7 separate regions of the Homo sapiens genome follow, and all the other regions are linked to region 1. Evidence: promoter capture Hi-C in 16 types of primary human blood cells and fetal thymus (Javierre and others, 2016). All regions are on one chromosome and are shown on one strand. Each heading gives the region's core, a stretch centred on a gene start or on the middle of the fragment in contact. The rest is flanking DNA. Distances are from core to core; before and after follow the strand shown. Region 1 holds the start of KIAA0319L (KIAA0319 like). Region 2 overlaps ZMYM4 (zinc finger MYM-type containing 4). Region 3 overlaps ZMYM4 (zinc finger MYM-type containing 4). Region 4 overlaps CLSPN (claspin). Region 5 holds the start of ZMYM4-AS1 (ZMYM4 antisense RNA 1). Region 6 overlaps ZMYM4 (zinc finger MYM-type containing 4). Region 7 overlaps ZMYM4 (zinc finger MYM-type containing 4).

The links. Contacts are between HindIII fragments. The CHiCAGO score rates a contact against its expected background, and 5 or more counts as called.
Region 2: a fragment that was not itself captured here is called in contact with the fragment with the promoter of KIAA0319L in region 1 in 1 of 17 cell types (M1 macrophages); the score reaches 5.9 in M1 macrophages.
Region 3: a contact is called between a fragment that was not itself captured here and the fragment with the promoter of KIAA0319L in region 1, in 1 of 17 cell types (M1 macrophages). The highest score is 7.0, in M1 macrophages.
Region 4: a contact is called between a fragment that was not itself captured here and the fragment with the promoter of KIAA0319L in region 1, in 1 of 17 cell types (M0 macrophages). The highest score is 5.5, in M0 macrophages.
Region 5: a fragment that was not itself captured here is called in contact with the fragment with the promoter of KIAA0319L in region 1 in 1 of 17 cell types (monocytes); the score reaches 5.6 in monocytes.
Region 6: a fragment that was not itself captured here is called in contact with the fragment with the promoter of KIAA0319L in region 1 in 1 of 17 cell types (M1 macrophages); the score reaches 7.5 in M1 macrophages.
Region 7: a contact is called between a fragment that was not itself captured here and the fragment with the promoter of KIAA0319L in region 1, in 3 of 17 cell types (M1 macrophages, erythroblasts and M0 macrophages). The highest score is 6.6, in M1 macrophages.

Annotation. Positions count from the first base shown.
Region 1 is chr1:35,555,210-35,559,042 of GRCh38, forward strand. KIAA0319L (KIAA0319 like) reads right to left here and starts at 2,194. Exons shown (of 21, transcript NM_024874.5): 1 at 1,998-2,194. It overlaps NCDN (neurochondrin), which reads left to right and starts at 2,590. Exons shown (of 7, transcript NM_014284.3): 1 at 2,590-3,014. The coding sequence starts at 2,982. RefSeq lists enhancers at 1-823, 1,624-2,351, 2,352-3,078, 2,368-2,427, 3,806-3,833 and silencers at 1,888-1,987, 1,998-2,137, 3,209-3,418. The HindIII fragment of the contact is 13,260 bases long and covers 1-3,833 here.
Region 2 is chr1:35,316,655-35,320,487 of GRCh38, forward strand. The region is part of intron 1 of ZMYM4 (zinc finger MYM-type containing 4); the gene reads left to right. Among named protein-coding and RNA genes, the nearest start is that of ZMYM4-AS1, 48 kb to the right of the region's middle. The HindIII fragment of the contact is 5,150 bases long and covers 1-3,833 here.
Region 3 is chr1:35,346,565-35,350,397 of GRCh38, forward strand. All of the region lies in intron 2 of ZMYM4 (zinc finger MYM-type containing 4), which reads left to right. Among named protein-coding and RNA genes, the nearest start is that of ZMYM4-AS1, 18 kb to the right of the region's middle. The HindIII fragment of the contact is 3,023 bases long and covers 292-3,314 here.
Region 4 is chr1:35,747,641-35,751,473 of GRCh38, forward strand. It overlaps CLSPN (claspin), which reads right to left. Exons shown (of 25, transcript NM_022111.4): 10 at 3,610-3,833; 11 at 1,993-2,171; 12 at 1,827-1,891; 13 at 765-964; 14 at 267-421. Among named protein-coding and RNA genes, the nearest start is that of CLSPN-AS1, 10 kb to the left of the region's middle. The HindIII fragment of the contact is 3,248 bases long and covers 609-3,833 here.
Region 5 is chr1:35,362,277-35,366,109 of GRCh38, forward strand. All of the region lies in intron 5 of ZMYM4 (zinc finger MYM-type containing 4), which reads left to right. ZMYM4-AS1 (ZMYM4 antisense RNA 1) reads right to left here and starts at 3,801. Exons shown (of 2, transcript NR_046659.1): 1 at 3,690-3,801. The HindIII fragment of the contact is 2,562 bases long and covers 914-3,475 here.
Region 6 is chr1:35,393,419-35,397,251 of GRCh38, forward strand. It overlaps ZMYM4 (zinc finger MYM-type containing 4), which reads left to right. Exons shown (of 30, transcript NM_005095.3): 18 at 177-321; 19 at 3,134-3,252. Among named protein-coding and RNA genes, the nearest start is that of ZMYM4-AS1, 29 kb to the left of the region's middle. The HindIII fragment of the contact is 2,814 bases long and covers 242-3,055 here.
Region 7 is chr1:35,411,793-35,415,625 of GRCh38, forward strand. ZMYM4 (zinc finger MYM-type containing 4) reads left to right here. Exons shown (of 30, transcript NM_005095.3): 27 at 2,180-2,291; 28 at 3,674-3,833. Among named protein-coding and RNA genes, the nearest start is that of ZMYM4-AS1, 48 kb to the left of the region's middle. The HindIII fragment of the contact is 1,886 bases long and covers 914-2,799 here.

The DNA.
Region 1 (3,833 bases), core at 944-3,443:
ATAAAACTTTGCTATATTGTCTAAATTAGTACGTAAATATTGGCAACATTATGAGGGTTGACTGAGTTCTGAAGAAGCAATTCAAAAACTTCTGTCCAACTATGTACCTGTCATCTACATCCAGCAAACGACACAGGCTGCCAACCCCTAACTCCTATCCACGGCCAGCATACAGGGAGATCAGCATTGCCTGGGCTGGATACCAATACTGACTAATACCAAGAAACAGCCACAGACATACACACAGCTGCAAAACTAAGGTGCAGCCCACCCAAGAAAAGGCTTTTGCAGAACCACATGCATCTGAAGGACTTCATCGTTCTCATTCACTTCCATCCATTCCTATTTCTAGTTGTTTTGTAGTTGTATTTCAGGGAGCAGGGGGCAGAAAGGAGGTGTGTGGGCCAGAGACATGTTCAAGAGATTATGAAATGGAGCCTAAGTTAGAAAGTACATCCAGCAATTTCTCTAGCCTCCCAAGAGGGAACGAGTGAGTATGCATGTGTGCATGTATGGGTGTGTATGAATCTTACCCAACACATTTCTGCCTACCACAAAAGGATTTAAAACTCAAGGTGACTCAACAGCTGTCATCAATAGCCTGACAGGTGGGTGGGAGAAGCAGAAAAGAAATGAATAGCTTTTGAAAAATGGAGTAATAAACACCACTGGACTAACAAGCTGATTAGAAGTGCCATGTCTAATAAATCTTGCGTCTAAGAGAAAGGCAGAGTTAATTTCATTTGAACTCCTAACCAGTCATTCCTCTGAAACCTATAATTGCCTAAGGGCACAAATCACTGCTAGGGTCCAGTTAAAGGCTTGCTGACCAAACGCAAGAACAACAACACATCACCAAGATCCGAATAGTTTGTTACTGAATCAAAGGGTAACAACCCAGGGAGAGAACACACACCCCCACAATACTTGACAAATGAAAATCTAGAGAAGCTCACAATAGTTCTGGCATTTAGGGCGTTACAAGTACACCCAAAATAAAAGCACTCTCTGTTGCAGCAGCTGTTCAGACAGAGCAGGGGGTAATGTTTACTTAATACTTCAGGTTGATGGGGGATGTATCACAGTTCAGTCTGTCAACTACATACGTGGAACTCCATTTATGTACACAGCGATAAGATATGTTTGAACAACGATGGAGCACGTCTGAAACAATCTATTCAGTTGGTATGAGTAATCGAGAATAAAGCTCTTTTTTAAAAAGTCTCAGATATTTGGGAAAGTTACAGAACAGACTGCCATGAATAGCTTTGCTTATATTTGCAGACACTGTTTTCCAAATAGCTGGAAAAATGAACAGATTGTTCTGGGAGGTCGTCTTTCCAATTTGTTCCTAGTTTTCAGTCTGTTAATCACAGGAGAGAGCACAAGGAGAGTCAGCTAATGCTCTTCACTAACTGCAACTACTGTCAGTTGGACACAACCACTATGAGACCAGAAGCCAAAGAGTTCCTGGAATCCCGCCAGAGGTTATCAATTTTGACTTCCTTCATTTCACCTTTGTGCTCACTGCAGCCACTACAGGACCCTCTGTGGGGCATAATTTTCAAAATCGTGGATGAGGCAGGTTTCACATTATAATGGACACATCGTGCTCAACCCCATCCCCTCTTCATTCTGCACCAACTTTCTATCTCGGTGGAGAGACCAAACATCAGAGACAGCAACTAAAGACTAGGCTGCAGAGGTCGAAGGTGGAAGAAGGACGGCAGCGCCCCGAACCCCGGCTGTCTGCCTGGCTCTCAGGGGATGGAGGGAGCTGCATGACTAGGCCCAGGCCCGAGAGAAGCGGGGTTCAGCCTGGGACCCAAGCTGCGCACCTGCAAGGACAGAAGCAGCTGGCTGCCCTGGCCGAGCCAGGGGCGCCACCTCCGGACCCAACATCCGGCCAGCGCAGCCGCTGACATCGCCCGTCCCGCTTGCCCCTCCCCTGAGCCCATGGTCCTCGGCCTGGCAGCCAGCCGCCCCCGGCCACCTACCGGGGCTCAGGGCCACATAGCGGGGCCCCGGCTCTCGGCGGCCTCCGCCTCCTCCTGGTCCATGGGCTCGGGGACCCCCAACCTTCGCTCCCCTCACCCGGAGGAGGAGGAGGAAGAGGAAGAAGGTAGTGCGGGCTCCCCACCCGGACAGCTACCTCTCGCCTCAGCCTCCCTGGACAGCGACGGCGGCCGGAAACACCGCCTCCTCCCACCTCCCCGGGACCGACCCGGAAACACACTCTCCATGCTAACCAAGCCCTCCCGCCCCTCCCCCGGGAAGGGCAATGCCGGCCGCGAGACCAAGGGGGAGGAGGGGCAGTGCTGGGCGGGTAAAACTACGCACAAGCGAAGGAATCTGGGCCCCCAGCCTCTCGCCGCCCGCTCTCCAGAGGCAGTCTGCACCTTGCCTCCTTCGCTCGAGCCCCAGCCCCCAGACTCGGGCAATACCCACAAGCAAGATGGCGGCAACGGCGGCACCCCCTACTGCTTAGCACCCTGACTTGCCATTGGCCAGAGCCCGGAGTGAAGCAGCCGCGGATTCGTCAAGAGCGGTGCGGGGGTGGGGGTGGAGCTGCAGCAGCCTGGAGCCAGGAGTGGGCAACGCGGCGTGAGCAGCGGCCCGAGGCTCCCGGAGCATCGCGCTGGGAGAAGACTTCGCCGCTCGGGGCCGCAGCCTGGTGAGCTCAGCCCCCTTCGGGCCCTCCCCTGCATCCCAGCCGGGGCCTCTCCGAGCCGGCGCTGATCGATGCCGACACACCCCGGGGACCCTATCGCGACTCCATCGCGCCATATCGCGACACCATCGTGCCCTGTCGAGACTCCATTTTGTCACAGCCCTTTTCAATATATATCTTTTTTTTTTTTAATTTGCCCTGTCATCTTTGGGGGCTGTCTCCCATGTCGTGATTTTGACGTGATCTCTCCGTGACATCACCGCGCCATCGTGAAGTGTGATCTCATCGCCGCCCTGTCGTGACTTCATCAATGTCGTGTTGTGACCTGGCTGCGGCGGGACAGGTGGTGACCGCCAGGAACCCTCCTCCCCTTCTCATCTCCCCATCTCAGCAGCCCTGCTTCGATTATCCGGCTTTTGGATTCTCCGTTGTCCTGGGAACTATCCGGGACCCCCTCTTGCTTCTCCAGCCCCTGCCGGCATCCACAGGCTGGTAGCGGGACGGGGAGGGCGAGAAGAGGGAGCGCAAGGGGTTAATTCTGCTGCTGCCGCCGCCGCTGCTGCTGCTGCTGCAGCCTCTACCCGAGGGAGGGAAAGGAGAGGAGGCAAGGAGCCTGCGGGGGCGACTGAGAGCCCTGGCTGGAGGGGTGGGGTCCCCAAAGGGGCCTCCAAGCCTTCCCTGTTGAGCGTCTTGTATTCTCACTTCTGAAGCGTATCTCTGCCTCTGAAGAAGGGAGGGGAAAGGAAGCCTGGGGTGTCCTTTTCTCCCATGTCAGCCTGAGTCCGGATAATCGAACTTCACCCATGTATGTCTCCATTTCTCCCTGTCTGTCCTCACCACTCACTCCCTCTGTGTCCCTGTGGAGGGAGATAAAACCCAGCCTCCGGTGCCAGGGGGACAGCTGAGCAGTGGGGCCAGCTCCCGCCCACCCCCAGGAGACTGGTGAGGAGAGCTGTCCGGCTGAGCAGCAGCATGCATGGTCCTTCTTTCCCGCTTTCTGGAGGTGACCTTGGACCAGGGTCCCTTCTTTATCCCTAAGGATTTGCAGATCCAGCCCCTTAAAGGGGCTTCTGGGGGGAGGTCAGTCCTGAGGAGTCCACCCCTCCAGATTCTCTCCTCCCCTCCCTCTGTGCTAATCCCTCCCTCCCTCCATCCTCCACTC
Region 2 (3,833 bases), core at 884-3,383, 240 kb before region 1:
TGAAAATGGATACTCAAGAGGAGAGAATTTGCAAAAAAAGATGAAAGTTCAGAAAAGGAATCAAAAGTGATAACACAGGAACTGAAAAATTAGATGTGATTAGATGATCCAAAAATGGTGACAGGCAAGTGAAGATAGGACAAGAGCTAGGCCTGCATGTAGTTACAGTATGAACTATATTGAAAAAATTCAATTGGTGGCTCACGCCTGTAATCCCAGCACTTTGGGAGGCTGAGGCGGGCGGATCACCTGAGGTCAGGAGTTTGTGACCAGCCTGGCCAACATGGTGAAACCCTGTCTCTACTGAAAATACAAAAATTAGCTGGGCATGGTGGCAGGCGTCTCTAACCCCAGCTACTTGGGAGGCTGAGGCAGGAGAATCACTTGAATCTGGGAGGTGGAGGTTGCAGTGAGCCGAGATCATGCCATTGCACTCCAGCCTGGGGGACAAGAGCGAGACTTCATCTCAAAAAAAAAAAAAAAGTTAAAGTGCTTCAGCCAGGCGTGGTGGCTCACGCCTGTAATCCCAGCACTTTGGGAGGCCGAGGCAGGTGGATCGCCTGAGGTCTGGAGTTCGAGACCAGCTTGGCCAACATGGTGAAACCCTGTCTCTGCTAAAAACACAAAAAATTAGCCAGGTGTGAAGGCGGCACCTGTAATCCCAACTACTCAGGAGGCTGAGCCAAGAGAATCCCTTGAACCCGGGAGGTGGAGGCTGCAGTAAGCTGAGATTGCGCCATTGCCCTCCAGCCTGGGCAACAAGAGTGAAACTCTGTCTCAAAAAATAAATAAATAAATAGATAGATAGATAGATAGCTTTATCACGTAATTTAAATAAATTGTATAAAATGTAGTCAATTTGGCTAGCATTCAGGCTGAATCATTGAAGTTAGTTGTTGCACTGAAAGAAAACTAATTACAAGCCAACCGAAGGACTTCTTGTTGCCAGTAAAGGCTGGTTTGATCATTTCAGAATGGTCATAGATTGTTGATAAGTTTTCTGGTAAAGATGCTAGAACAGATCGGGATGCTGCTGTGAAATTTGTGCCCAGATTCCAGAGATTACTTAAGGCAGGTAATTGTGATCATCAGCTATTTAACATGTTGATGGGATAGGTCTTTTTTGGAATGCAGCCCATCATTAACTTATGCAATGAAAGACATAGGATCTTCAAGTGGCCATAAAGGGGAGTGTGTAGATATGTCACCTGAAGAATTCAGTGAAGACAAACTTACAAACATAAATGAGGAAAATGTTGTAACAAAGAGACGAATGTCATAGTGGAAGTAATACTGGTACAAATTTCACAGTAACACAACTCGTTGAGATACTCAAAAGATTCAAAGAGCAAAGGGTATAATTTTGGAAGCCAATTCAAATTTAGAAGGGATTATGGCAGTTTTTTTTTTTTTTTTTTTTTTGAGACAGAGTCTCACTCTATCACCCAGACTGGAGTACAGTTGCGCAACCTTGGCTCACTGCAACCTCTGCCTCCCGGGTTCAAGTGATTCTCCTGCCTCACCCTCCCGAGTAGCTGTGACTACAGGCACGTGCCACCATGCCTGGCAATTTTTGTATTTTTAGTAGAGACAGGGTTTCACCATGTTGGCCAGGCTAGTCTTGAACTCTTGACCTCAGGTGATCCACCCACCTTGGCCTCCCAAAATGCTGGGATTATAGGGGTGAGCCACTGTGCCCGGCTGACAGTTTGTTAAGGCATGGAAAAGTTGCTTATTCTGTATCACAAGTTACATAGGAAAAGACAAAGGCAGGCACTGTCTACTCCTGGTAGGGTTTTTTGTTTTTTTGTTTTTTAATTTGAGGCGAAGTCTCGCTCTGTCACCCAGGCTGGAGTACAGTGGCATAATCTCGGCTCACTGCAACCTCCGTCTCCCAGGTTCAAGTGATTCTTCTGCCTCAGCCTCCCAAATAGCTGGGATTACAGGCATGTGCCACCACACCTGGCTAATTTTTGTATTTTTAGTAGAGACAGGGTTTTACCATCTTGGCCTGGCTGGTCTTGAACTCCTGACCTCAAGTCATCCGCCTGCCTTGGCATACCAAAGTGCTGGGATTACAGGCATGTACCACTGTGCCCAGCCATACTCCTGGTAGATTTTTTACAAATAAATAAAACCCTTTGATTCTCACATTTTAAATTATAACGTAGTAAGCAAATATTAGTTATACAATATTTTTTCATTTCCCTACACATTTAAACTGACACAGTGTTTTTGTTTTTGTTTTTGAGACGGAGTTTCGCTCTTGTTGCCCAGGGTGGAGTGCAGTGGCATGATGTTGGCTCACCACAACCTCCGCCTCCCGGGTTCAAGTGATTCTCCTGCCTCGTGAGTAGCTGGGATTACAGGCATGGGCCATGATGGCCAGCTAATTTTGTATTTTCAGTAGAGACAGGGTTTCTCTATGTTGGTCAGGCTGGTCTCGAACTCCCGACCTCAGGTGATCAGCCCGCCTCGGCCTCCCAAAATGCTGGGATTACAGGTGTGAGCCACCGTGCCTGGCCAAACTGACAGAGTTTTTAACGTTTCAAGTGTTTTGACAAAAAAAGATCATGGAACAATTTTAATTTTTCTCTTTGATCATTAAGATTGCTTTGCATGGTTTCAGCTTGCATAGTCGTTTTTATATTTCTGCGTGGTAGCTGCCTGTATAAAAAATATAATATCGCTGGGTGTGGTGGCTCATGCTTGCATTCCCAGCACTTTGGGAGGCTGAGGTGGGAAGATCACGAGGCCAGGAGTTCAAGACCAGCCTGGGCAATATAGCAATACCCAGTCTCTACAGAAAATTTTAAAAAATTAGCTGGGCGTGGTTGTGCACACCTCTAGTTCCAGCTACTTGGGAGTTGAGGTGGGAGGATCCCTTGAGCTCAGGAGTTTGAGGCTGCAGTGAGCCATGATCATGTTACTGCATTCCAGCCTGGGCAACAGAGCAAGACCCGTCTCAAAAAAATTTTTCCAAAACAAATTTCTCACATTGAGAAACTTGAAAAAAATGATTGTAAAAATCATCAGGATTAATACATTTGAAAAACTAAGGGACATCCAAATCAGAGTAGCAACAGGGAAAGACTAACATTACTCATTGTGGCGGTTGAAGGAATAGGAATAGGATTGGACATTTGATTTGGAGTGGTCTGTTGAAAGTATACAAATTATTTGAAACTTCAGTGGAAACTTTGGGAGTTTTGGAAAATTTAAAGTACACTCTATGGTTAAGTTTTTTAAATAAACAAGTTTCAAACTGCTTATTAACTAATAGAAATGATTCTTTTATTTAGCAAAGACTGAGTTTTTGTTATATTTTACGCAGTGTTGTAGGTGCTAGGCTACTAAATACAGAACAAATAAAAATATCTTTGGGCTAGTGTGATACTGTGATATAATAGGAAATACATATTTGGTTTCTGCCCCAGGTTCCTGGCACACAGCTCCTAAAACTGTTGGAATCTCTGAAGTGATAAGTGTGGATTGTGTACTAATGAGTGACTTGGGCTTAGGGCCAGGCCTTTCCATAGCTTCAGCATGGGGCTGGTCACCAAAAATACCAAGACATGACTAGAGGGCTAAACATCGAGTTGAGCAGCAGTGCCAATGATTTACTCAATCATGGCTGCATAATGAAGCCTCCATAAAAACCCCAAAGGCAAGGTTCAGAAAACTTCCGGATTGCTGAACCACACAGAGGTGCTGGAAAGGTGGCATGCCCAGAGAAGACGTGGGAACTCCATGCCTCTCCCCAGCATGTATCATCCTATGCATCTCTTTCATCAGGTTGTTCACCTGTATCCTTTGTAGTATCCTTTATAATA
Region 3 (3,833 bases), core at 553-3,052, 210 kb before region 1:
CACTTGAACCTAGGAGGTGGAGGTTGTAGTGAGCCAAGATCATGCCACTGTACTCCAGCCTGGGTCACAAAGTGAGACTCCATCTCAAAAAAAAAAAAAAAAAAAAGAAAAAAAAAAGAGAAAGAAATAGTTCTATAGATAATTTCCCTAAGTAGCTTTCTAAGCCTATTTAACTCAGTATTATTTCTCTACCATAATGCCAGTTGTACTGTGTGAACTACACATAGCAACATTTCTATAGATGTAGTGTTAGCAAACCTTTTTCCTAAAGGGCCAAATAGTAAATATTTAAGCTTTCTTGGCTGTGGTCAACAAATATGACTTTTTGCATTCTCCTTATTCTTCTTTTTACAACCTTTTAAAAATGTAAAATCATTCTTAGCTTAGAGCCATCCAGAAATAGGCCCTGGATAAAATTGTTTAATTAGGACTTCTTCTATATATATGTATTTATTTTGAGATGGAGTTTTGGCTCTTGTCACCCAGGCTGGAGTGCAATGGCACTGTCTTGGCTCACTGCATCCTCTACCTCCCGGGTTCAAGCAGTTCTCCTGCCTCAGCCTCCTGAGTAGCTGGGATTACAGGCGCACGCCACCACACCTGGCTAATTACTTGTATTTTTAGTAGAGACAGGGTTTCACCATGTTGGCCAAGCTGGTCTCGAACTCCTGACCTCAGGTGATCCACCGGCCTCGGCCTCCCAAAGTGCTGGGATTACAGGCGTGAGCCACCGCACCCAGCCTTCTATTTTTATTTTCAAAAAAATCTCCATTGACCATTTTTGCAGATAGTATGAGCTCTAGTAGAAGTGGTTTATTCTGTTAATGAACTTATGAGAGTAAAAAAATGAAGTTGTTATAAATTTACTGATGCCATTGAGGGAAAAAAAGTACAAGTTACTCTGTCTCTACAGTTATAAAGCCCTTAATAAAGGATTATTTTAACATTGCTTTCTTTTTTTTTTCCTGGATTATAAGGGGTAGCGTTAAAAATTAGGTTTAGGGCTTGAACAGATTCTTGTTTATCTGAATAGAAAGGGATATCAGCTAAATCTGCTGTGACAAGTGAAGAGAGAAGATGAAAATACAGATTTTTGTTTTATAAGTAACAGAACTATGTTACAGAAATTTTGGAATTAGAAGGAAGAATAGTAGGAATGCTTATGGGCCTAAAGATTGGGGTATAGTTGGGTCATTGGTACCGTCTCCCCATATCTCTGTGGTATTGTGCTTCTGCAATTATTGGCAAAAATGACTTTTGTATTTATTATTTTGCTTATTATGTTATTCTGCTTACAAAAGTAATATGCTCTTTGAAATACTGACATGTAATAAGATATGAAAATTTTACTCAGTAAGATGATAGTTTATTACAGTGATGTGCTTCAGTTTTAATAGACTTTTGACAGTTTTTAGGTAATTGCTGAATGTTTTATCAGTTTATATAGATACCTCTAATCTTCTTGATCATTGTTGCCAGAACACTAGAAATAACAGGGATCATTCTAAAAAGTAAAGTCTGTTGTACTTGTTCTCATATTGAAAAACAACAATTTGTTTTATAAAATGGTTTATACTGTACTTCAAAGTCATAATTTTTAAAGCCTTAGTGCGTAAGTTGACTATTAAAATTGGTAAAAATCAAACTCATTTCTATCAGAAATGTATCAAGTGTAAATATTTATCACCTTTTGGTAAGCTATAAAATCAGATTGATCTAAATATTCCACTGGTTTCAAACTTTAAAAAAATTTTTGAAACACTGTTAGAAATATATTTTACATTGAGACATATACATGTGTATTTCTGTGTGTACACAAACATTTCTTGTAGCATTACTTATTGTCATTCTATATGATACACTTCGCTTTCTGTTCTAGCCCATTAAAAAAATACTGGTTCCTTAATGTGCCCATCCCTGCAACTTGAAAGAAGACTAAATTATTACATTGTAGTTATTATCTCGTTCTCATGCAGAGTTTTCTTTTGGCTATTGCCATATTAATAACTATGATTCTTTTTCAGTTTAGGATCATACATAAGAATTAACCATTTTTCTATTGTAAATGTGCTCTGATAAGAATCACGGTCTGTCACTAAAGGAGAAAACTAGAGTGGCTGTTGAGGAGCATCTAGTAGTTTCAGACACAGCCACACAGTTCAGCATGCTTACCAAGATTTATTGTGTTTGTTCCCAAACTTTATTAATACTTGCCATTGTAATTATATAAGTTAACATGTACATTTTTTTACACTAGTGAAATGTTACTTTGAAAAGTAAACTGTTGTTTCTGTGAAAATTTGAGTGCTTTAGAAAAACTAAGCAAGTCAGTAAAAACATGGATGTGCAAGTGTCTTTACTTTCTCCCTCCATTTTAAAGAAACTCAGATTGCAATCATGAAGATGGCCTATATGGTTGTGATTTATTTATTTTTATTTCATTTTTTTTGAGATGGAGTCTCCCTCTGTCACCCGGGCTGGAGTTCAGTGGTGTGATCTTAGCTCACTGCAACCTCCACCTCCTGGGTTCAAGCGATTCTCGTGCCTCAGCTTCCTGAGTGGCTGGGATTACAGGCATGCACCTGGCAAATTTTTGTATTTTTAGTAGAGACGGGGTTTTGCCCTGTTGGCCAGGCTCATCTCGAACTCCTGACCTCAAGTGATCTGCCTGCTTCAGCCTCCCTAAGTGCTGGGATTACAGGCGTGAGCTATGGTGTCCGGCCTGTGGTTTAGTTAAGAAAGACATATTAGTATAGCCATTATCAAAATCTTGGCTGATATTAAATGATTGGTAAATGTGCTTTTGTATGTCTCAAGTAAAAATAAATGTTTAAGGCAATTGTGTTTCATTTTTAATGATTTTTGGCTTTGACTGTTGAATTACATTGTGATCTTATAAAGGGGTTTTTATTATTTAGGAAATTATATTTTATTGAATAGCAGATAGTCAGATCATCCCTTAGAAATGTTTATGTGACAGCGGCCGAGCGCGGTGGCTCATGCCTGTAATCCTAGCACTTTGGGAGGCTGAGGCAGGTGGGTCACTTAAGGTCAGGAGTTCGAAACCAGCCTGGCCAACATGGTGAAACCTCGTCTCTACTAAAAATACAAAAAAACCAGCCAGGCGTGGTGGTGGGCACCTGTAATCCCAGCTGCTTGGGAGGCTGAGGCAGGAGAATTGCTTGAACCCGGGCAGTGGAAGTTGCAGTGAGCTGAGATCATACCACTGCACTCCAGCCTGGGAGACAGAGCCAGACTCTGTCTTTAAAAAAAAAAAAAAAAAAGTTTCTGTGACTAAACAAAGTGCTAACTTAAGCTTTTATTTAAAGCAAATCACAATCACCTTGTTTTTGTTTTTCATTTTTTAATTTATATAATTTAATTTTTGTTTTTCATTTTTTATATATATATATTTTAAAGACAGAGTCTCTCTCTGTCACCCAGGCTGGGTTCAGTGGCGCAGTCATAACTCACTGCAGCCTTCAACTCCTAGGCTCAAGTGATCCTCCTGCCTCAGCCTCTTGAGTAGCTGGGACTACAGGTGTGTGCCACCATGCCTGGCTTGTTTTTTAATTTTATTTGTAGAGACGAGGTCTTGCTGTGTTGCCCAAGCTGATCTGAAACTCCTGGGCTCAAGTGATCTTCCTGACTCCATCTTGAAAAAAAAAAAAAAAAAAAGTAGCAATCTCAGGGAATTGTTAGAGAACCATGATTTCTAAAGTTGAAATTACTTTTTTTTTTTGAGACAGAGTCTTGCTCTGTTGCCCAGGCTGGAGTGCAATGGCACAATCTTGGCTCACTGCAACCTCTACCTCCCAGGTTCAAGTGATTCT
Region 4 (3,833 bases), core at 983-3,482, 190 kb after region 1:
AGGGAAATTTGATGACCTTACAATACAAGATCTATGCATTTCAAATAAGACAGAAATTGAAGGACCAGAATGTTAGCAAGAGCTATTTATGTTTATTTTCTGGACAGACTTTGTTCAAACTTATAGAATGTAATACTAATGGTCTGTACACCTTCTCTTTCTCAGAAGAGAAAGCACAGATGGAGTGACAGAAGCTCACTTATTTTTAAACAAAATTAAGCAGTACCCAGCACCATTCCCGCCCACAGAAACACAAAACTACCTACCCATCTGCATCCAACAGTTGGCTCTGAGTGTCATCTTCTAAACAGAACTGGAAGTCTCCTGCTCCTAGGAAAAGTGTCTTAGGCTCTGGGGAGGCGTTATACAGATCCTGGGAATCCTCTATGGGAAGTGAAGGCTCAGACAGTTTCCCTGAACTCTGGCACACAAACAAAAACAAACAATAACAAAACATTTTACAAATGTCAGTCATTGTCATGACAACCACAAAAGTTGCTATTTGCAATATTTAAGCTACTCTCAGGAAATTGTAGTTGAGGGGGACAATACACAGCCATGAGAAGCATAAAGAAAAATACCTCCAAGAAAGTAAGAATACTGGATGAAGCTTGTTTTTAATACACAAAGGGGGTGGATTTTTTAAACTGAACACACATAAGCTCAGTACCAACGTGGTGGGAGTTGGTTGGCTGGGACAAACTTTATTTAGCAATGTGGGAAGCAAAGAGAGGAGGAGATTAGAAAAACCATTACCATCTTACCTTAGAAGCTGAGCTGACCAAACTGGCTCGAAATAGCCCAGGGGAAGGAGATCTGAATCCTCCTGCTGTAGGGAAAAAACTGGTCCCACGGCCTGTTTGTCTGTTGCAAGGCTGATAGGATGGAATCGTGGAGCCAATCAGCTCAAAGCTGCTATTGTGGCTGCTCTCCTTTGTTAGCAATGAACATGAATCATCCTCATCTAAAGAAAGAGAAACACCTTTTAAGCACATGATTACAGAAATAAGGTGGATTTGTTTAGGAAAAAGAGTTGAGGATGAAACTGTCAGATAAAATTCATAGGCAAACCCCTCAAGTTATATGTTCCAAAACATTAAGTTAAAGGTAAATTACAGTACTAAGATAGCATTATATAATCAGGGCTTATTACTCTGAGCTAAGTGACACTTGAAAGTTCTTTTTTTTTTTTTTTTTTTTTTTTTGAGACAGTCTCGCTCTGTCACCCCAGCTGGAGTGTAGTGGCGTGAATTCGGCTCACTGCAACCTCCGCCTCCCAGGTTCAAGCGATTCTCCTGCCTCACCCTCCCAAGTAGCTGGGACTACAGGCGCGTGCCACCACACCTGGCTAATTTTTTATATTTTTAGTAGAGACAGGGTTTCACCATGTTAGCCAGGCTGGTCTCGATCTCCTGACCTCATGATCCGCCTGCCTCAGCCTCCCAAAGTGCTGGGATTACAGGCGTGAGTCACTGCGCCTGGCCGAAAGTTCTCTTCTTTCTCTTATCCTTCCTAATGCCTATGATCACACTCTTCATTGTCCAATCAATTATACGTCTTCCTTTGATCTACATACAGAAACATTTCATTGCTCACTCAATCAACACACATTCACTAAGGACATTATGTACCATGGTCTACTATAAATAAACTGCAAAAAATAGACCAAGAAAAATATTCTAATTCATAAACCCTTTTCATAGCTACATATGAAACTGGGAAGTGACCAGATTTAAAAACATGGAAACTTACCGTACTGCAGTCCTTAAATATCAAAGCTGAGGGACAAAAGAAATGTTAAGTTCTGCACAAGAATCACTACTTACCCAGTTTGCTAGGCTGCTTGCCTGAGTTTTCATCTGTTTCTGATTTTTCTTCAGTAGGAAAGTAACTGCAAAATAAGAAAGTAAATTGGTTCAGTATCTGTTCCTAGTTTTTACAGGAGGGGCAAATCCAAGGCAATTTTAAGTTTTCTTAGAGAGAATCACTTACCCCATCTTGGAAGAGCTGTCCTTAAACAGAAGTAAAGTAGAATCTGATGAGAGAGACTTGGGAACAGAGAGGAAGCCAACTGCCTTGCCAATTTCACTACTGCCATCATTATTTTCTTTATCCATTTCTTTTTCATCTTTTGTTTCTATTTCTTCACTACTAAGAAGGAATTCTGCAGTCTTTACCAATCAGGCCACCACAAAACAAAAAATACAAGTCAAAACATTTAAAAGCAAATACACTGGTAGCCTGAAATATGGCTGATTGGTTACAGATCACATCTTAAATTCAAAAAGGTAAACTTGAAGGAAGTTCCATATGACCATTATCAACATAATTTTCCCTGACACTTCTAGAACTTTTTTCTATTTTTTTTTTTTACCTTCTACCCTCCCGAAATTGCTAAGATTATAAAGGACGACTGGATTATCATTTTATTGAGGCAGTAAGAGGTTAATTAATCAGTCTAAGATTGCAGGCTGACTACTGATCTCAAACCAAGCACAGACTGAGACAGGCTGTATAGCTCAGCCATTGCTTTCTTTCTCCTTTACCCAAAATTAAATAATAACTCAAGTTGCTGGGCATGGTGGCTCATGCCTGTAATCCCAGCACTTTGGGAGGCCACAACGATGGGAGGATCACTTGAGGCCAGGAGTTCGAGACCAGTCTGGTCAACATAGTGAGACCCTCATCTCAAAAAAATTTAAATAAATAAATAAAATAAAATAAAATAAAGTGATCCCAGCATACAAAAAGGAAAGTTTTTTTTTTTTTTTCTTTTTTTGAGATGCAGTCTTGCTCTGTCGCTCAGGCTAGAGTATAGTGGCACAATCTTGGCTCACTGCAACCTTCACTGCCCAAGTTCAAGCAATTCTCCTGCCTGAGTAGCTGGGATTACAGGTGTGTGCCACCACACACAGCTAATTTTTGTATTTTTAGTAGAGATGGATTTTCACGATGTTGGCTAGGCTGTTCTCAAACTCCTGACCTCAGGTGATCCACCTACCTCAGCCTTCCAAAGTGCTAGGATTACAGGCATGAGCCACCCTGCCCGGCCCAAAAAGGAAAGTTTTTTAATACTTAACAATCGTATCATCACCTGTTTTCCCTAGGCAGAAAACAGTACTACGGAACAAGGGCAAGAGGCCCTTCTACAAATGCCTTCTTCTACAAAGAACGAAAATAACTCAGAAAGGCCTCTACCTCCCTAAGAATTTACTCCAGGCCTCAATCTAGCCAAGGTTAGGACTGCTTTTTAATCTGCTAGAGAAACCTAAATAAACAACAAAGATAAAATTTCCTACGAATACAAAGCCATTTTTAATATTAGCATTATTATATTAAAATATATAAACAGGTGGAAGCCCAGGCAATGGTATTCTGTCAGTACCACTGAATATCTGTATTCAGATATATAATGATGATCTACAGATATTCAGTGGTACTGACAGAACTGAAGTTCCTAAGATTTAGGGATATATGAGGTAGTTACCCTCATCATGCCCCTAAAACCTCTTATACAATTGAACATGCTTATTATACTCTTTTTCAAGTCTGACTTTTTCTCTCATATTCACCATGACAAGGTAACAAAACAACGTAATTGCCAGAAACCTCCTGATTTCCTTCTTCTTCCTCCTCCTCTTCTTTCTCCTCCTCTTCCTCTAGTTCTTCCTCTTTCTCTTCTTTCTCTACCTTCTCTTCTCCATCTTCCTCAGACTCATCTGTCATTTCTTCCTCTTCCTCCTCCTCTTCCTCAAACCCATCTTCATTATCTAATTTAAACAGTGCTTGGCGCTTCTGGCGCTCCTCAAACCTTCGGAGTTTCATTGCTTCTT
Region 5 (3,833 bases), core at 945-3,444, 190 kb before region 1:
CTTTGATGAATGATACATGATTCCAAGTTTGAGATCTGTGAGTAATAAGAGTGAAGGTAGAGCTCTGCTATTTCAAGGTTGCTCTGGAGATAAAATCATAGAGATCTTAAAACTGTGAGGTCCTGAAGTCAGCTAAGCTATCCATGCAGTTAATGATGTTGCTGTTGTTGGAATAGAAGAAAAAAGTTATATCAGATGCTGCAATCATTTTGAAGTGCAAGAAGGGGTCCAAGGGACGAATATGCAATAGCAGCAATTATTTGAGGGTATCTGTGTTTTGTAAAGATGGTATGAATTGGCTCTTTTTCTGAAATGACATTTAATCTGGGGGAAGCTTATATTTTCCTATCTTTCTGTTTATATTAGAAGGTTTGAGACTGTCAGACTTCTGTGGAAGTGCTTTCTTTTTCTTTTCTTTCTTTTTGTTTTTTCTCTTTTTTTTTTGAGACAAGGTCTTGCTCTCTTGCCCAGGCTGGAATGCAGTGGTGCAATCACTGCTCACTGCAGCCTCAACCTCCCAGGCTCAAGTGAACCTCCCAGCTCAGCCTCTTGAGTAGCTGGGACCACAGGCGTGTACCACCACACTGGCGAATTAAAAAAAGATTTGTAGAGGGGCCAGACGTGATGGCTCACGCCTGTCATCCCAGCACTTGGCAGGCTGAAGCCAGCAGATCACTTGAGGTCAGGAGTTCCAGACCACCCTGGCCAACCTGGTGAAATCCCATCTCTACTAAAAATACAAAAAATTAGCCAGGCATGGTGGCGGGTGCCTGTAATTCCAGCTACTTCGGAGGCTGAGGGAGGAGAATCACTTGAACCAGGAGGTGGAGGTTGCAGTGAACTGAGATTGTGCCACTGCCCTCCGGCTTGGATGACAGAGTGAGACTTTTTTTTTGGTAAAGTAAGTTGCACAAGCTTGTCTCTAACTTCTGTGCTCAAGCGATCCTCCTGCTATGGCCTTCCAAAGTGTTGGGTTTACAGACGTGAGCCACCGTGCCTGGTCAAGTGCATTTTTCATTTAGATGTTTTTGGACAGGATTTCTCAAACTCCACAGCATTGACATTTTGGACCAGATAATTCTTTGTTGTGAAGAAATGTCCTGTGCATTGCAGGACATTTAGTAAGCATTTGTGGCCTCTACCTACTACATGCCAGTAGCAGCCTCCTCCCTTGCCAATTTTAACAAAAAATGATCTATTGAGAACCATTGTATTAGAGTAAGCAGATGGAAGAATAGGAGATTGCAGAGGTTGGTGATTCATGTGAGTCACTGAGTCAAATTGATGCTCAGTTAGCATGAATTCCATGACGTTCAGTGGAAGTTGGATGTGTTAGGGTAGTGATAAAGCTATAGGAGTTGGATGGATATGAGTATACTTGCTACAAAGAAGAAAGTAGAAGGAATATAAATAGATTTTTCTGTTCTATTTAAATAGAAGGTAAATAAAAGCATGTTTATAGAAGCAGGTAATGGAGATCTTAGATATCTGAATTAGGGATAAATAGATGTCCCAACACCTGGGGAAAGTTCATGTGGCAGTATATGCTTCAGAAGACTACAGCCATGTCTATATGAAGGGCAGATCTTGTATCTCTTCTCCTGCCCCAATGTGGGCATGCTGGCAGGGTACCAAAATCATCTCTTTCTTTTGTACTTGAACCATGTGACACTTCCTTGGGACAAAAAGGCACTTAGAGCATAAACCAAATACAATAGGGGTAGAGAACACTGAGAAGGTTATTAGTATTGTTGTTTTCAGAACAATCAGAGGTTCCAGTGGCTGGAGAATATAAATAGGATGGAACAGATAGAAACACTTAAATTTTTATATACTTATTCAGAATTATAAAATGTGTTATCAAATACTGAATATGAATATGAAGTTTCATCATGATTATGGGAAGAACTTCCCCAAAGGCTTACTCCCTGATTGATTGGACTTGAGAATTAAGCAGTAATGTGAGTAGGTCCTGGGCATAAGATCCAAAAGCATTCTTTACCCTGACCCCACAATAAGGGACTTGTAGTATGTGAGTGGATAGAGCTAGGTTTTCCCTGAGGAGTCCTTTTTGTTGTCAGCAATACCAGTCCTATAGGATCAGACCTTTGATAATTCTTCTAGAAATCCCCCAGAGCAGCTCTCATGTTATAAACTAGATATGTGATTCTTTCCTTCTTTTCTTTTTCTTGTCTTTTCCACACCCGTCTCCACCTTCCCTCCTTCTTTTAGAAGAGTATTGCCTTTCAAAATTGCATAATTTATTACTTTTATTCATTTCCCATGGACTGGAAAAGAGAACTCTAGTGTATTATATTATTAGTCTCAAAAAAGTACTATTAGCCTCTCATAAAATACTGATAGATTTTACAGTTGTGGTCAGTGTTTACTTTTGACCATCAGTTACCAGTAACTTCTTTCATGGTTCAATAAAATCATAGCTTTAGTTTATGGCACCTTTTCAAAACTTCCTTTGGCTTTTCTTTGTGCTTAATTTAGGTAGTTTTGCTTTTAGCTCACTTCCTAATTCTCTTTTTTACACAATTCATTTTGGTCCTAATTTCTTTACTTTACTATATAAACAAGGTGCTGAAATGTGTGTGTATGTATTTAACTTCCTCTACCCATTTGCTCTTGGTTATTTCTTCAGTTATGATATTCTGGATTTGCCAGTCATTGTCCGTCCTCCTGCCTCTATTACTGGCATAATGTCATTGGGTCTCACAGTTTCATTTCTTCATTCTAATTCTATTGCATGTTTCTATAATGTTTTCTGTAGTATTTTTACAGTTACAGATGCTTTTACACGTACTGTGTTGCTTAATTCGCCTAACAACCCTGTATAAGATGGCCAGAGTAGAGGATGTTAACATTTATAGGTGAGAGAGCTGAGAGATATAGAGATTTAGTTACTCAAGCCCTCATGGCCAGGAAGGAGCCAATCTGGGGTCATAATCAAAGTCTTTTTTTTTTTTTTTTTTTTTTTTAGTCTACCAATCTTTCTGTAAATAAAAGTTGTTTAATTTTAAAAATACCAAGGGAAGGTTTCAAAATAGATACTTTAAAGAGAGCCAGAGACCTCATTTTCCTCTTTTGCCTTTTCCATAGGGTCTAAAAACTGTACATTCAGTAAATACTACATTAAAGTCATGATTTCTTTTTCTTCTTGTTCATAATAATAGAGGACGAGCTAATGTGTAGTCTCTCATTGAAAGAACTCAATTAAAATGGGAAAGCAAATGAACTAATTGTCATAATAGTCATTCACACAGTTTTGGAAAGAAAATGTAGTAATTCAAATGTTGGGGCTCTTTTAGCCATATTGAGTTAATTTGGCAATAGAAACTGTGTTATTCATTTCTAAAATACTTTCATGGGATATTAATATTGATCTTCATTTGTAGTAAACTAAGAAGGTAAAGGTATTGGTAAAGGAATTTTTTTGTGTTTTGGCATGTGTTTTTCTGCTTCTGAAAGCTTTTGGGTTACCAATTAGATATTTACTTCTCAGAAAATATTTATTAGTATTTGGCTACTCATTGATTTGTTTATCAAATACTTGTAAAATTAGTGATCATGGGAGGATCCAAACATAAACCAAACATGATTGTGCCTTGAAGGCATTGTGGACCATACAAACAGTACTTAAGATGTATACTATTTTACTATATTACATAAATAATACGTACTCAAGGCTAAAGGAATCCAGCAGAAGTTTGCAATAGCCATCACAGAGACTAAGAGAGCTGACTGCAGACCGTTAATGTATGCCAATGAGTATTGGTTGTTTCTGGAGTTTTCTGAGATTAAAATAAAAATATTTAAGGAAATTT
Region 6 (3,833 bases), core at 399-2,898, 160 kb before region 1:
TTGATTACTATTAATATTTTAGGAGTATTGTATTTCTTATACATTTGGTTGAATATTTACTTGCTATGTCCTCCATGTAATTCCAATATGACATTTCCTTTAATATTATAATATTTCTTATAATTACAATGAGATTTTTAAAAATGTTTTTGGTTTCTAATTTGTTTTTTTACTAGGCAAGTACTCAAACAGATGCCCTGAAACTGCCACCTTCCCAACCTCCAAGGCTTTTGAAGAACAAAGCTTTATTATGCAAACCCATCACACAGACTAAAGCCACCTCTTGCAAACCACATACCCAAAACAAAGAATGCCAGACAGGTATGTTCCTTGGTCTTTCTTTCTTTATTAATTTTTTAAGGGAAAGAAATGTAGGATCTACTTACATTGAGTACCTGCTATTTCCTAGGTGATGTGTTTGGTTGTTTGTATACATTGCCCAATTTAGTTCTCACAGCATCCCCGTGAGTTAGGTATTTTCCGCATCTGAGGCTTAACAAGTTGGGTCAAAGAGAAGGAAGTTAATCAGTGATACCATACTGTGAGCAAGTCATTTAATTCTCTTATTAATGACAATGTAATATTATAGAATAAGCATAAGGTTTGGAATTACATGGACAGGCTTCTAAGGAGGTGCTATTGTTTTCCAGTGTGACCTTAGGTTTGAACTACTCCACAGTCTCTTGGCTACTCCACACTGTTTCAAATGAAGTCAGTTCCTTTGAGGAGAGCTTCAGAGCTTTCTTTTTTTTTTTTTTTTTTTTTTTTTTTTTTATGAACTGCCTCTCCCCCTAGGCAGAATCTCTGAGCCACCTCTATGGATGCTGGGCAGGGTAGTAGTCTCTGGCCTTCTTGGCTTGCCTCCCCTGGCATGGAACTTCTGCCCTACAAGTGAGCTGGGGTGAGGGTGATCAGGATCCCAGTGTTCTTGGCCTGCTTTTCCTAGGGTAGAGCCTCCATCCAGTGGATGGAAACTGGGTGAAGGGAAGCCCCTGACCTCTTGCCCGTACTCACCAGGAATTTAGCCTCTTCAGCTTTCAGTTGGAGCGGATGAGAAATGCTTGTGGCCTCCCTTTCTTGATGAGATACAGTAACACTTGATTGGGAGCTGAGTGGAGAGAAGCCCATTTTTATTGGCCACAGCTACCCATAGTGGAGTTTCTGTCAAGCTGAGCTGAATTGAGCTGGGGGGATAAAGCCTGTGATGGCTGAAATGTCACAGACTTTCACTGTTCTTACCAAATTTGAACAGATTGTCTTGAATAAATGTTTCTTCATTTGGTATATGCCTTTAGGACAATTTCCCAAGAATTTAAATGGCTGTTTTTAAATAGTTTCACTTTCTTTGCTTGTTTCACTAAGGAATAGATCTTTGTAGCTCCTCATGCTGCCATCCAAAAGTCCTAGAATTTTGGCCGATTGCAGTGGCTCACACCTGTAATCCCAGCAGTTTGGGAGGCTGAGGCAGGAGGATCACTTGAGCCCAAGAGTTCAAGACCAGCACGGGCAACATAGCGAGACCATCTCTACTAAAAAATTTTTAAAAGTCCCAGAATTTTTAAACTAGAAGGAAATTCTTGATTTCTAGAGCTGCAAGGCTATCCTGTCAGCCATTGCTTCTCAAAGATTAATATGCACATGAATTATCCAGGAATTTTACTAAGTAGATTCTTATTCAGTGAGGCCTGAGATTTTGCATTTCTTATAAGCTCCCAGGTAAAGTCAGTGCTTCTGGTTCATGGACCACACCAAAATAGCAAGGCTCTAAATGATTTAGTTCTTTTTTTTTTTTTTTAATCAATAGCAGTTTATTTAGTATTATGTAGTTTGGTTATCAGATGTTTCTAAATCAAGTAACAATTTTTTAATGTCCGCTGTATTATGTAAAGTTTGTTGGCCAAATGTGGTGCCTCATGCCTATACTCCCAGCACTTTGGACAGCTGAGGCGGGAGGATCACTTGAGCCCAGGAGTTCAAGACCAGCCTGGGCAACATGGTGGGACCCCCATCTGTTAAAAAAAAAAATTTATGCCATATTATTTTCCCACTTCTAACTCTAGTCAAATTGTTAGCTCTTCTCTTTCTGTCCCTAGTATTACCTTTCTCCTAGATTAATGATTTTACACTTATCTAGCATATTCTCTGACACATAGAAAGGACTCTATATGCTCCTTGACTTATAATGTTGTACCCATCATATGTTAAAAAAATCATGAGTCAGAAATGCATTTAATATGCCCAACCTCCAGAACATCATCATAACTGGGCCTAGGCTATTTTAAACATGCCCAGAACATTTACATTAGCCTACAGTTGGGCAAAGTCATCTAACACAAAGTTTATTTTATAATAAAGTTTTGAATACCATGTAATTCATTCAGTGCTATACAGAAGTATGGTATATACTTGTTTTTGCACCATCATAAAGTTGGAAAATCCTGTATTGAACCATCGTTAAGTTGGGGACCGTCTGGTTAAATAATGGAATAAATCATCCATCTTGCTACTTTCTCCAAGTTTTTTTCCAAGTTCTGTTTCATCCTTTTAATACTTAGAACATCTGCTATATATATTTATTCTTTTTTGTAGGTATCATAACCTAGAGTAGTCTCCCATCATCTTAGCTCTACATATTATAATTGCCTCCTATTTTAACAGTTGATATATTTTTTATTCAGTGCTGAAATTGTTGCCAAATTAATCTTTTTTGATGTCATTTTCATCACTACTTTGTGTTAAAAAAATCTTCAGTAGCTACAAATGATTTTGAAATGTGCATTATAGCATGATGGAAATGGCCCCTCCCTATTCAGCCTCCTCTTTAGCAAGTGGTTTTCCATGCCTGTCTTCTAGGTTCCCTGTTTCAATCCTTTCAATTTATCCATCTAAATTATATCCTGCATTCATTTTCTCCTCACATCACTGATATTTGTTACCCACTTTTTGTCAGTGCTATACTCAAGATTTATTTTTTTGGCTACTTTAGTTATTTCTCCTTTGTAAGAAGTCCTGTAGTGTCATAGGTTACTCTTATTTTGAACTATAAACCTCCATAAGCTTTTTTATTTTGAAATCTTATGAAAGCATTTCTAACCCTCTTTGCTTTTTGTGATTTTGTTGTTGTTACTGTTAGAAGACACTCCAAGTCAGCCCCAGATTATTGTGGTGCCAGTTCCCGTACCAGTGTTTGTTCCCATACCTCTTCACCTTTATACTCAATATGCTCCAGTCCCATTTGGAATTCCAGTTCCAGTGAGTAATCATTTAGAGATTAAAGCTAATATAGCATGCATTTTCCTCAATTAAAACTGTATAGTTCTGTGAAGAAAGTTTTCATTTGTTAGTAAAATATACCTGCTTCTGATTGGCTGTTATCATATTCCCATTATTACTTAACATGGATTATATAAATGACTGCTTTTATTTGTACCCTTCCTTCTCAGAAAAGGTTATGATGTAGCTTTTTAAAAAACTTACATGCACAATAAGACCACTCAAATAGAAAAAGATCAGAAATGGTGTATGTTGAAATCCTGGATTCTAGCAAGGGTGAAAAGAGTACTGTGATTTATATAATTCTCATTTTTGATTAAAGAAAAATGTATTTTTTAATTACAAATTTATTTTTCCCAGGTACTGAGTCCTTAAAGGAAACAGTTATGAGAAAATTGTGAGAAATACAAGCAAAAACAACAAAAACAAAATGCAAGTGTATTATAGAATTATTCTTTTAGAGGATTCAGAGACATAATTGGTTGAGTGTCCAAAGCACTTATTGAAATTTTATTTAAATGGCTCTAGTCTTATAAAAACAAACTAGCAAGACTATTTTA
Region 7 (3,833 bases), core at 607-3,106, 140 kb before region 1:
TTTAAGTGTGTAAGTCTTACAACATTTTGGTTACATTTCTTCTCAAGTATTTTATTCTTTTTGATGCTTTGGTAAACATGGGACTTTTGTTTGTTTGTTTGTTTTTTTGAGACGGAGTCTCACTCTGTCGCCCAGGCTGGAGTGCAGTGGCACAATCTCAGCTCACTGCAAGCTCCGCCTCCTGGGTTCAACGCCATTCTCCTGCCTCAGCCTCCGAAGTAGCTGGGACTACAGGCGCCCGCCACCGCGCCCAGCTAATTTTTTTTTTTTTTGTATTTTTAGTAGAGACAGGGTTTCACCGTGGTCTCGATCTCCTGACCTTGTGATCCGCCCGCCTTAGCCTCCCAAAGTGCTGGGATTACAGGCATGAGCCACCGCACCTGGCGGGACTTTCTTAATTTCCTGTTTGGATTGTTCATTGCTAGCTTGAAATACAGCTGATTTTTGTGTATTGCTTATATGCTGCAACTTGGCTGGATTCACTTATTAGCTCTAATAATTCATTTTTCTGTGTATTCTCTAAGATTTTCTATATATAGGATTCTGTCACCTGCAACTAGAGATAATTTTACTTCTTCCTTTCCTATTTGAATGCGTTATATTTATTTTTCTTGCCTGGCTGCTCTGCTAGGATTCGCGGTACAGTGTTGACGAAGAATGGCAAGGATAGGCATTCTTGTCTTGTTCCTGGTTAAGGGGGAAGAGACTTTTTTTAAACATGTATGTTGCGTTATATGTACTGATATATTTCTGTAACTGTACAAAACTCACTTCTGCATAATGGAATTTCTTAAAGATTGGAAATATTTTTGCATATGAATAGTAGTTGACTTTGTGTGATGAGTTTGAATGAGTTTGAATAGTCTACTTTTTCTTTATTTTGAACTTTTTCAATAACGAAGATATATTTTTAAGCTTGAAAGTGACTATATTAAAAGAAGAAAAAGAGGAATACTGTTGAACAACAAACTGTAATCTGCCAATAAGTTCATAAATTGCCTTTGAGGAGGCCTCATAAAAATGCCTATTGAAGTGGTAATTTTTGTTAGCCAGAATAAATTTAAATGGAAATAATTTTCTCCAAATCATACATAGAAATGCAAGAAACCAAGATAGCCACAGAAATATAAATTAAAAATACTAAACCTTAAAAACACCAAAATACTTTTATCACGTAATTACATGCTGCCTTGGATTCCGTTACTACTCATGGTGTGTCCCTGTCTCAATTGATTTTATCTGACCTGCGCCGTCAGTACTTTTTAAAAGAGACAGGGTCTTGCTCTGTTACCCAGGCTGAAGTGCAGTGATATGATCATAGCTTGCTGCAGTCTCAAACTCCCAGGTTCAAACAACCCTCCTGCCTCAGACTCCCAAGCAGTTAGGACTACAGGCATGCACCACCACCCCTGGCTATTTGTTTTTAAATTTTTTGTAGAGATGGGTCTCACTGTGTTGCCCAGGTTAGTCTTGCACTATTGACCTCAAGTGATCCTCTCACCTTGGCCTCCCAAAGCACTGGGATTACCATTCCTGGCTCAATACATTTTTAAACTATAGGTATTCTTTTTGTTCTAGCCTATGATATGGTTGTTAATGGTTATAATTAACATAGTTCAATGTCCTATAATTAGACTTGAACTTTTTTGAGGGCTAGGTTGTGGGGCAGAGTTGAGAGCTGTAGTTAGAAGGCTCCAAATAAATAGTTTTTAAATTTGGGTTTCCTCAGGTCAACTGACATTAGCTAACTGTGTGATTGCAAGAAATGATCTTGTATCTAGGGTAAAAAACAAAAGAGCACATCTGCAGATACACATTATGAATCAGGAAAAACATGATTTGGAACGTGTGCATTGGAACCAAGTTTTAGTATGTCAGTTTTAGGAACTAAGTAAAGGGTTCTTCATAATACTTCTTCTGTACCATCCGTGTTTGAAAACGAAGTACAAAAACTTTACCTTGCAAGGTCAGTGCTGAAGATAATGTGTTAATAAGAACAGGAGCTTTAGCTTGAATTCTAGTGTTTTAACAACTATCTCTAAGGTACTGAGAGGTTAAACATGGTTTATAATATTGTAAGGGCAAAAATTAAGGGTAAACTGTATTTCTTACAATAATTTTTTAAGAACTCATGTTTTCTTTTTATCAACATGTATATTTTCTTTTTTTTTTCTTGTAGTACCTGTTTGAAAATGGTAGAATAGATAACATTTTTACTGAGCCCTATTCCAGATTTATGATTGAACTTACCAAACTCTTGAAAATATGGGAACCTACAATACTTCCTAATGGTAGGGTGATTTTTTTTTTATTGTTTTCATGATATGCTTTCTTAAATTGCTTAACTTTTTTGGTTATCTTTAAAAAAATTGTTCATTTTTATTTCTGTCCAGATTTATACCATATTTGGACTTCTGAGGAGACGGTCTTTGGTTTATTGTTGATTGTTTTAGGAAAACTGTACAAGTCATATAGCACATGTATAGATACTGATTGCAGAAAATATAAACTAATTTGAAGTTACATTTACCTTTTTAGAAACCATTTTTGATCTGGTAGCATTGGTGTAGCTTTCACATATCATATCTGCTAACAGTGGACCTTTTTTGGTAGTTTGTATGTATACTGAACTGTTGTTAAGAGAGTTAAGTCCTCGTCCTTGAATTATCTTTGACCAGATGTCATCAGACAAGTCCATAATTCACTCCAGGTCTCAGGCTGAGGTGAATGAAGAGGTTCAATGTTATGCTTAGTAATATATGCACCTTTCTGTTGGGCTGCAGAGCACCTTTAACAGTAAGCTTAATGATCTCCAACAGGAGTTTGCAAACTATGGTCCATGGGCCAAATCTGGCCTGCTCCCTGTTTTGCAATCTATGAGCTAAAAATTGTTTTTACATTTTTAAATAGTTGGGGAAATTTTTTTAAGAATTCCTATTTCATCATGTGAAAATTATATTAAATTCATGGCTGGGTGTGGTGGCTCACACCTGTGGTCCCAGGTGTGACTTTGGAAGGCTGAGGCAGGAGGATCACTTGAGCCCAGGAGTTCAAGATCAGCCTGGGCAACAAGGTGAAACTCTGTCTCTACAAAAAATAAAAAAAATTAGCTGGGCATGGTGGTGGTGCCTTGTAGTCCCAGCTACTCAGGAGGATGAGGTGGGAGAAGCACCTGAGCCCAGGAGTTTGAGGCTGCAGTGAGCCCTGATCGTGCCACTGCACTCCAGCCTGGGTGACAGAGTAAGACCCTGTCTCAAAAAAAAGAAAAGAAAATTATATGACTATAAATAAATTTTACTGGCATATAGCTCTGCCTGTTTATGTGTTCTCTACAGCTCCTTAGTTTCTACAGCAACAGCGTTGTTCAGAGCCTATATGGCCTACACATCCCAAAATATTTACTTTCTGGCCCTTTATAAAGACAGCTTAACCCCTAATCTAAAATATCAATAGATTAAAACGGTTTCAGGAGACTCCACGAACGGTGTCTACTTGAGTGGAATCATCTGCCTTTTTCTTTGTGGTGCGTTTTCTGGTTTTCTGCATAAGGAAGAGGGGAAAGAGGAATAGTCAGTTTTTCTCTTTATATCTCCCTGTCTTAGAATTTGAGAGATTACTTAGTCTACTTTAGCAGGAGCTCAGTACTGTTTCTTGTACCCCTTCTTCTGTCTAGGTTACATGTTCTCTCGCATTGAGGAAGAGCATTTGTGGGAGTGCAAACAGCTGGGCGCTTACTCACCAATCGTCCTTTTAAACACCCTCCTTTTCTTCAATACCAAATACTTCCAACTAAAGAATGTTACTGAGCACTTGAAGCTTTCCTTTGCCCATGT